Linked DNA regions of Homo sapiens: region 1 is linked to region 2. The links are contacts of gene promoters, found by promoter capture Hi-C in human tissues and cell types (Jung and others, 2019). All regions are on one chromosome and are shown on one strand. The core of a region is centred on a gene start or on the middle of the fragment in contact, and the rest is flanking DNA. Distances in the headings are between cores, read along the strand shown. Region 1 holds the start of LOC124901863 (U4 spliceosomal RNA). Region 2 holds the start of CCDC136 (coiled-coil domain containing 136).

The links. The method cuts DNA at HindIII sites, captures the fragments that hold promoters and counts their contacts. A contact is called where the count stands out against the background at its distance.
Region 1: a contact is called between a fragment that was not itself captured here and the fragment with the promoter of CCDC136 in region 2, in 1 of the 25 tissues and cell types used here (lymphoblastoid cells).

What each region holds. Positions count from the first base shown.
Region 1 is chr7:129,102,603-129,105,943 of GRCh38, reverse strand. It overlaps LOC124901863 (U4 spliceosomal RNA), which reads left to right and starts at 2,244; the gene lies at 2,244-2,389. It also overlaps the pseudogene LOC112267982. The HindIII fragment of the contact is 8,145 bases long and covers 1-3,341 here.
Region 2 is chr7:128,790,324-128,793,621 of GRCh38, reverse strand. CCDC136 (coiled-coil domain containing 136) reads right to left here and starts at 1,654. Exons shown (of 18, transcript NM_022742.5): 1 at 1,195-1,654. The coding sequence starts at 1,210. RefSeq lists silencers at 2,271-2,539, 2,078-2,547. The HindIII fragment of the contact is 16,505 bases long and covers 1-3,298 here.

The sequences.
Region 1 (3,341 bases), core at 80-2,579, 310 kb before region 2:
GTGAGGAAATAACAGCAGATAGGAACTGAAATCCATAGGAAGAAATCAAGAGGAACAGGAAGGGTAAATAAGATTAATATAACTAACTCTATAAATATGTACTTGGTCTTCTTCTCTCAGGTTCTTTCAAAGTAATAATTATAGCCAGGTACAGTGGCTTATGCCTGTAATCCCAGGACTTTGGGAGGTCAAGATGGGCCAGGAGTTCGAGACCAGCCTGGGCAAAATAGTGAGACCTTGTCTCAATTAAAAAAAAATTAAATAAAAATTAAAAAGTAATAATTATAACACCATACTGTTGGATTTATGATACAAAGAAGCAATATGTGTAACAATAATATCACAAAAAGAGGGAGAAAGGAACACCACTATTTAAGAGTAAAGTTTATATATCTCACTGAACTATTTAAAATATAAATGCCTACGTCTGCTGAATCAGAATTTCAGGGAAATGGCCAGACCTTTCTTAGCCCTTACAGTGCCTTTGTGTGAGTTCAAAAAAGCTTCCTTTTCTCCAGTCAAAGGTAGTTCCATGCTAGGGCCAAAGGCTTAGCAAGGAGAGCGTGAGCTGGAACAACCCCCTCACCCTAGTGCAGTGAATAACCTACACAGCTGTCTGAGGGAGGTGGCCCCAGGCATGACCCACATATTTATTTTAAAATGGCTCCTCTAATAATTCTAATGGACAACCAGTGTTGAGAACTACTGGGTTAGGGAAGCATTCAAAAAGAATCTAGTCTAAAGTATCAGAAAACTGATTAAATATGAGAGATAATTGTTAGAGAGGATTTAGAGGGAAGATTTTCAGGTTTTTTAATCCCAGGGACTGAGAAATTGGTAACAGAAATAGAGGAGATGGAAGGAAAAACCTGATTTGGAGGGAATGAATTCACTTTTAATTATTTTGATTTTGGGCCAGGCATGGTGGCTCATGCCTGTAATCCCAGCACTTTGGGAGGCCAAGGTGGGTGGATCACTTGAGGCCAGGAGTTCGAGACCAGCCAGCCCAACATGGCGAAACCCCGTCTCTACTAAAAATACAAAAATTATCCGGGTGTGGCGGTGGTGCACGTCTGTAATCCCAGCTACTCAGGAGGCTAAGGCACAAGAATTGCTTGAACCTGGGAGGTGGAGGTTGCAGTGAGCCAAGATTGGGCCATTGCACTCCAGCCTGGGCGACAAAGCAAGACTGTCTCAAAACAAAAACAAAGGCCGGGCATGGTGGCTCACGCTTGCAATCCCAGCACTTTGGGAGGCCGAGGCAGGCGGATCACGAGGTCAGGAGATCGAGACCATCCTGGCTAACACGGTGAAACCCCATCTCTACTAAAAATACAAAAAAATTAGCAGGGCGTGGTGGCGGGCGCCTGTAGTCCCAGCTACTCGGGAGGCGGAGGCAGGAGAATGGTGTGAACCCAGGAAGCGGAGCTTGCAGTGAGCCGAGATCGTGCCACTGCACTCCAGCCTGGGCGACAGAGCAAGACTCCATCTCAAAAAAAAAAAAACAACAACAAAACAAAAAACCAAAAAAAAAATTATGTTGAATTTGAGGCCATGGCAAGATATTACATTGCAGTTGGAATGCCACACTGAGAACTGAAAGATAGATGGTTCTGAACTCAAAAACTTTGTATTTAGGAAGCACCACATAGCACAGTGATAATGAAAATAGATACCCCATATAAAGAGCCTACTCAGTGCTTTACCCAGTGCTGGACAGTGTGTATAAATACGAGCAGCAGTTGGCATGAGGCTGATGGAAGATGGTCACTCATAAGCAATTATTTACCCTAAAAACACATGTGTTTGGCCAGTGACCTGGACTGGACTGGATGAAGGCCAGGGTCAGAAAGTGAAGTGTGACTGGGAGGATGGAGGTGGCCTGTAAGTGATGCCAGCAGGTGGCTGAGGAGGATGCCACCACTTGAGGTTCCAGGGCACCACCCTGAGATCTTGAAACAGGTGAGGCTCAGTATTATTGTGACAAATGGGTGATAAAAATGACAATGGCTTCCCAAGTTCCACGGCCAGCTGCCATGGGGTCTCATGTGGGACAAACCCCTTTCCGCCCCTCATCCCCACTACAGTGTGTCTGGCATTGACATTCACCAAAACCAGAAGCCTGAGTGTGTTTGTGTCTGGGTTCATTGGACTGGCCCTGGTTGATGAACTGGCTCAAGATTCAAAACTTTTGTGGTTTGGCCCATGGATACTTTCCTGCAGAAAAAAAAAAAAAAGGCCAGAGCTTTGCACAGTGGCAGTATTGTAGCCGATGAGGTTTATCCAAGGCATGATTATTGCTAATTGAAATTCAAAAAAAGCTGGGGGGAGAAAAAGGCCAGCATGAAGAAAAAGAGGAAGGTACAGAATGATTGGAATTGGCAGGTTATTGGAGGAGGGGCACACAGCAAGTCCCACCCCATAGCATAAAGGACACTTAACTGTATGGGCATACACACAGCTATAGTTGTCCCCATGGGCCTCAGTGCTGTGGACAGGCCCAGCCAGTCTCAGGGCTTGGCCAGACTGGTGAGCAGGTGTAGACAGGTAGCCAGCCTACATTTGTGCCATACCACAAGTCTACCATTTCTGTAAGGCCACCTCCTAGGGCATCTGAGCTGGTTGATAGCATCATTATGCTCAAGCCACCCTGGAAGTTTGCGCATAGGTCAAATCCAGAGCCAGGAAACCGAATGCCATGAAAGAGAGGCTCACTCTCTCCTTCCTTAGCTGAAATGGCAGATGATTGATGCCTGCTGGGGTCTGTTGTATTCCAAATGGTCCCATGAGGAATACAGCAGAATGGATTCTGTTTAGGGTCTCTCTGACTACATGAGGGGCACAAACCATTTCAGAGTTTCTCAATAGGTCAGGAAAACAGAAATTATTCTATGATTTTCCTTGCCCGCAAAGTATGAGGCCAGGAAGGTCAAAAAATGATGCCAACGAAGCAGGCTAGCATGAGACAGCAGAGGCTTTGGTGCAGTGTTGGGGAAGAGGAAGAAGACTGTGGACTTGGCCTGCACTGGGGGAGGATGGGAATGGCGCTGCAGGCTCAGAACTTTGGCTCCTCTGACTGTAAAAGCTGGAATTCACCTCTAGAAGGAGAAAGTTTCTTTGCAACACCAAGTTAGCCAAGCGGAACGAATGCAGAGCCCCTGCAAGCTCTTCCTTCTCGCCTGACTGGGAATCTCAGAGCTTGTGAGTTAGTTACTGAATAACTGGTAGCAGCAGCTGACGTGACCCAAAGGCCTTTCATAGAATCAGCAGTTTAAAGAACTGCAGCCAGACAGTGAGTCCAAGGTCAAAAGTTGGGAGAAACCAGATCCTGGGCTTCATTG
Region 2 (3,298 bases), core at 405-2,904:
AACAAACAAACAAAAACAACCAAACAAAAACTATCCAGGTGGCTTGTGAAAAATCAGCCTTTCCATAATAAGAAAACATTGCCCGTCAGCAGGTAGAGAAAGAAAATATCTGATTGTAGAGGTTTCATTGGACAAACTCGGGCGCCCTTTCAAATGTATATTATTAAATACCTGTTTGAAATTTTCTACAAGGTCCACCTTGTTTTTCCCTGCTGCATGTCACAAGGTCTCCTCTCCCCTAGCTGAGCCATATGAGGCCCCTCCTACTCTGCTGACCACAAAGTAGATTTCAGGGGAAGTTTTAGGCTGTACTTGTGTGTAAAAGAAAGCCTACCATTTTAATGCATTAAAAAAACTGGGGTTTGGTGCTGGCCCCCAGCCTCTGGTTGTGAGCACCCGCTCCTTTACTGCAACGCAGTCCCTATAAATAGCAAAATGTTGTCTGGATGGTGATTGTTTGCTTTGTTTTAAAATTCTGAATCTCTGGTCTTACTTTATCTAATATCAGCAGCCTTAGGTTCAACTGGGACCCTTCGTGCCATCTGTCCCCCTTAGGGGGAGCAGGTTTGCCCATACTGAATGTGCAACGTGCAACACTTCACAGGAAGTACTGGCAAATGGACCAGCGTCCTTCCAGGGGCCTGGTGTTGGCAGCAACTGCCAAGTCACATGGGTGTGGTGGGGATACACGTGTGTTGGGAGGATGGCCTCACGCGCCCCCTCCTAGGCTCTCTCTTTCAGGCAATAAGGTATCCTAAAGAACCAAAGCCACAGGCTTCCATTCGAAGTTAATGTTGGTGGCCCCAGAAAGACAATTCACATGCCCAGTTCCTTGCTTTTTAAAATAAGAGACAGCTTGGGATCTGGGTCGGCAGGCAGTGAGGACAAACCCCCTGCTGAAAGGCTGCTTCAAAGCTCTGTCCAACAAGGCCTCTTTCTCTGTCTGGCAGCTCCCTCGGGACACATAACCTGGTTAGCTGGGGGGTGATTGGGGTCCCGAAGGGATGCATCCTGAACTTCTGTCAAAGCCTGAGCCCTGGGAAGGGCTGGAGCTCTGAGCTGCAGGAAGAGGGGCTAAGATGAACTGAGGGAAGGGCTGTGTCCTGGCTCAGAGGCCTGGGGGTCAGAGGGAGGAAAGAAGGGAATTAAGGGAGGAGGGGAGGGGAAAGAAAGAAGCCTTTTGGGAAAACTCACCCTCCATAGCTTGCATCCCCCGTCGTTCCAGGGACCCCCAGCGTTGGCCCTTCTTCCTCTCACAGCCCTCGGAAGCCTCATAGGAGCCTAGAGTGGTCACTGTGGGTCCTGAGAGCAGGGAGAAAGGAGGGGCTGGGGGGTGGGGGGCTGGCTGCGGGCTGGGGTGCAGAGGAAAGAAGGGGACATGTCTTCCAGCTCCTCGAGGCTCTGGGATCTGTAATCCCAGTGGAGGTGCCTGACTCACTCTGGCGGCTCTGCGACTCCTCTCTCTCGGCCACCTCTCAGCCCTGCCTCCCAGCCTCCTCAGAACCCGCTGTTCCAGGACCCTCTTGCTTGCACAGAAAGAAAGAGGGGGTGTGCGTATTTAGTCCGGGGGGACAGGGAGGAGAGGGCCAAGACTGAAAGAGGGCGGGAGCCAGTGAAGAAGAGGCTGAAAGGCTGAGGTGGCCTACAGATGGAGGGAGGGAGGAGTGGGGGGCGTGCGGGAAGGGGTAGGGCTGCGACCGCTCCCCTCCCCTCTCCTCCCATTCTCTCGCTGGACCTTGCCCACCCCACCCTCGCCCCGCGCTCAGGAGTCTCCGGGGCTGCAGGAGGTGTAGGGTCTGCAGTCCCGAAGGCTGGAAGCACCGTCGGACTGAAGTGGAGAGACGCGCTGGGGAGGGACCACCAGGCAGGATGCGGCCGGTGCGCGGAAGCCTCAGTCCCAGGCCGGAAGGATGGAGACCGGGCCCCGGTGGAGGCCAGGATGGAGGGAGGAAGACTTTGGGCGGAGAAAGGGGAGCCGCGGAGGCCGGGAGCACCTGGGGGTCTGGAAGGAGGAGGGATGGAGGAGAGAAAGGAGGGGCGGTAGACAGGTGACGGAGGGGCGGCTCTGACCTGGGCCCGGGCAGCTCCAGCCCGCGGCTCCCGCGCCGGCTCCGGCGCCCGCCTCCATGACCGCTCCCGCCGCCGCCTTCCGCCTCCCTGAGCAGAAGCCGCAGCCGCGAGCCCGGGGACCCGAGCCGGGTGCGCAGGGAGGGAGGGAGGGCGGACGAGGGGGCGGGGCCTGGCCGGGCCTCCTGACACCGCCCCCCGCCGCTCGCCGCCGCCCGGAAGCCCTCCCAGCACTCGGGAGCTCCGAGCCCGTGCAGGGGGCGGCGCGGGAGGGTGAGCGCGACCCCGGATACGCCCCAAGGCTCTCCCCTAGAGAGCGCGGGGAGCCGCGGGGCCCGGACAGCGTCAGGAGCTCCTAGGCTTATGGCTGCCCCAAGAGGGAGGAGCGAGATCCCCTGGTTCTGGCGGCGGGTCCCCCCGGGGTCTGCTGTGCCCAGGGACCCTTCTGCACCAGGTGTCAGGGCCCGGTCATGCTCAGCAATGGGGACGGCAAAGGACGAGGTGGGACTGTTTCCTCCAAAAGCGCAGACACGCGCGCCCCTCCTTCCCTCCCTCCCCCGCCCGGCCGGCGCCCCCACCTAGCAGTCCGCGCTGACTCCGGCCCCAGGCCCTGCCCACCCCTGCCCGGTGGCCCCTCGGCAGCCTGGGGGCCGGAGGAGGGAAGTCGAGGCCCGGATGGGCGAACGGCAGGGCCCTGACCTCTCCGCTTTCCGCGACCCCCCACCGAGCCAGGGCCAAGGACCCTCTTAGGAGGAGCCCTCCGGTGGCCCCATCAAGCCTCAGGGCCGGAAGACCCCCTCTCCTCCGCCCTGTCTTCCCTTCCGGTCCCACACCCGGTGGGCTGCGAGCCACGCCCCCACAGTAGCCCGCTCAGAGTGGGCACGACTGATGTTCACTCTCGTGGAAGGGAGATTTGGAAGCCCAGGGGGCTTATTTCACGTCTTCAACCATTCGTTTATTCAGGCTATGACTACTGGGTGCCGGCTCTTGAAGAGGCAGTTCTCACATCTCGGCAGGTCTCGGCAAGGATAGAAGTGGGCACAGTTGGGAACAGGGGCTCCCCAGCACATCCAGGAAATGGCTGGAAGATTCCTAAGCCAGGGACACACGCGGATCCCCTCTCTGGCACATCCACTCACAGGTCGAGGGCTAGTATTGTCTGCGTTCCCCCCGCTGCAGGAAAGGGATCCGGATCCAGACCGCAACAGAGGGTTCTTGAATCTCACGCAAG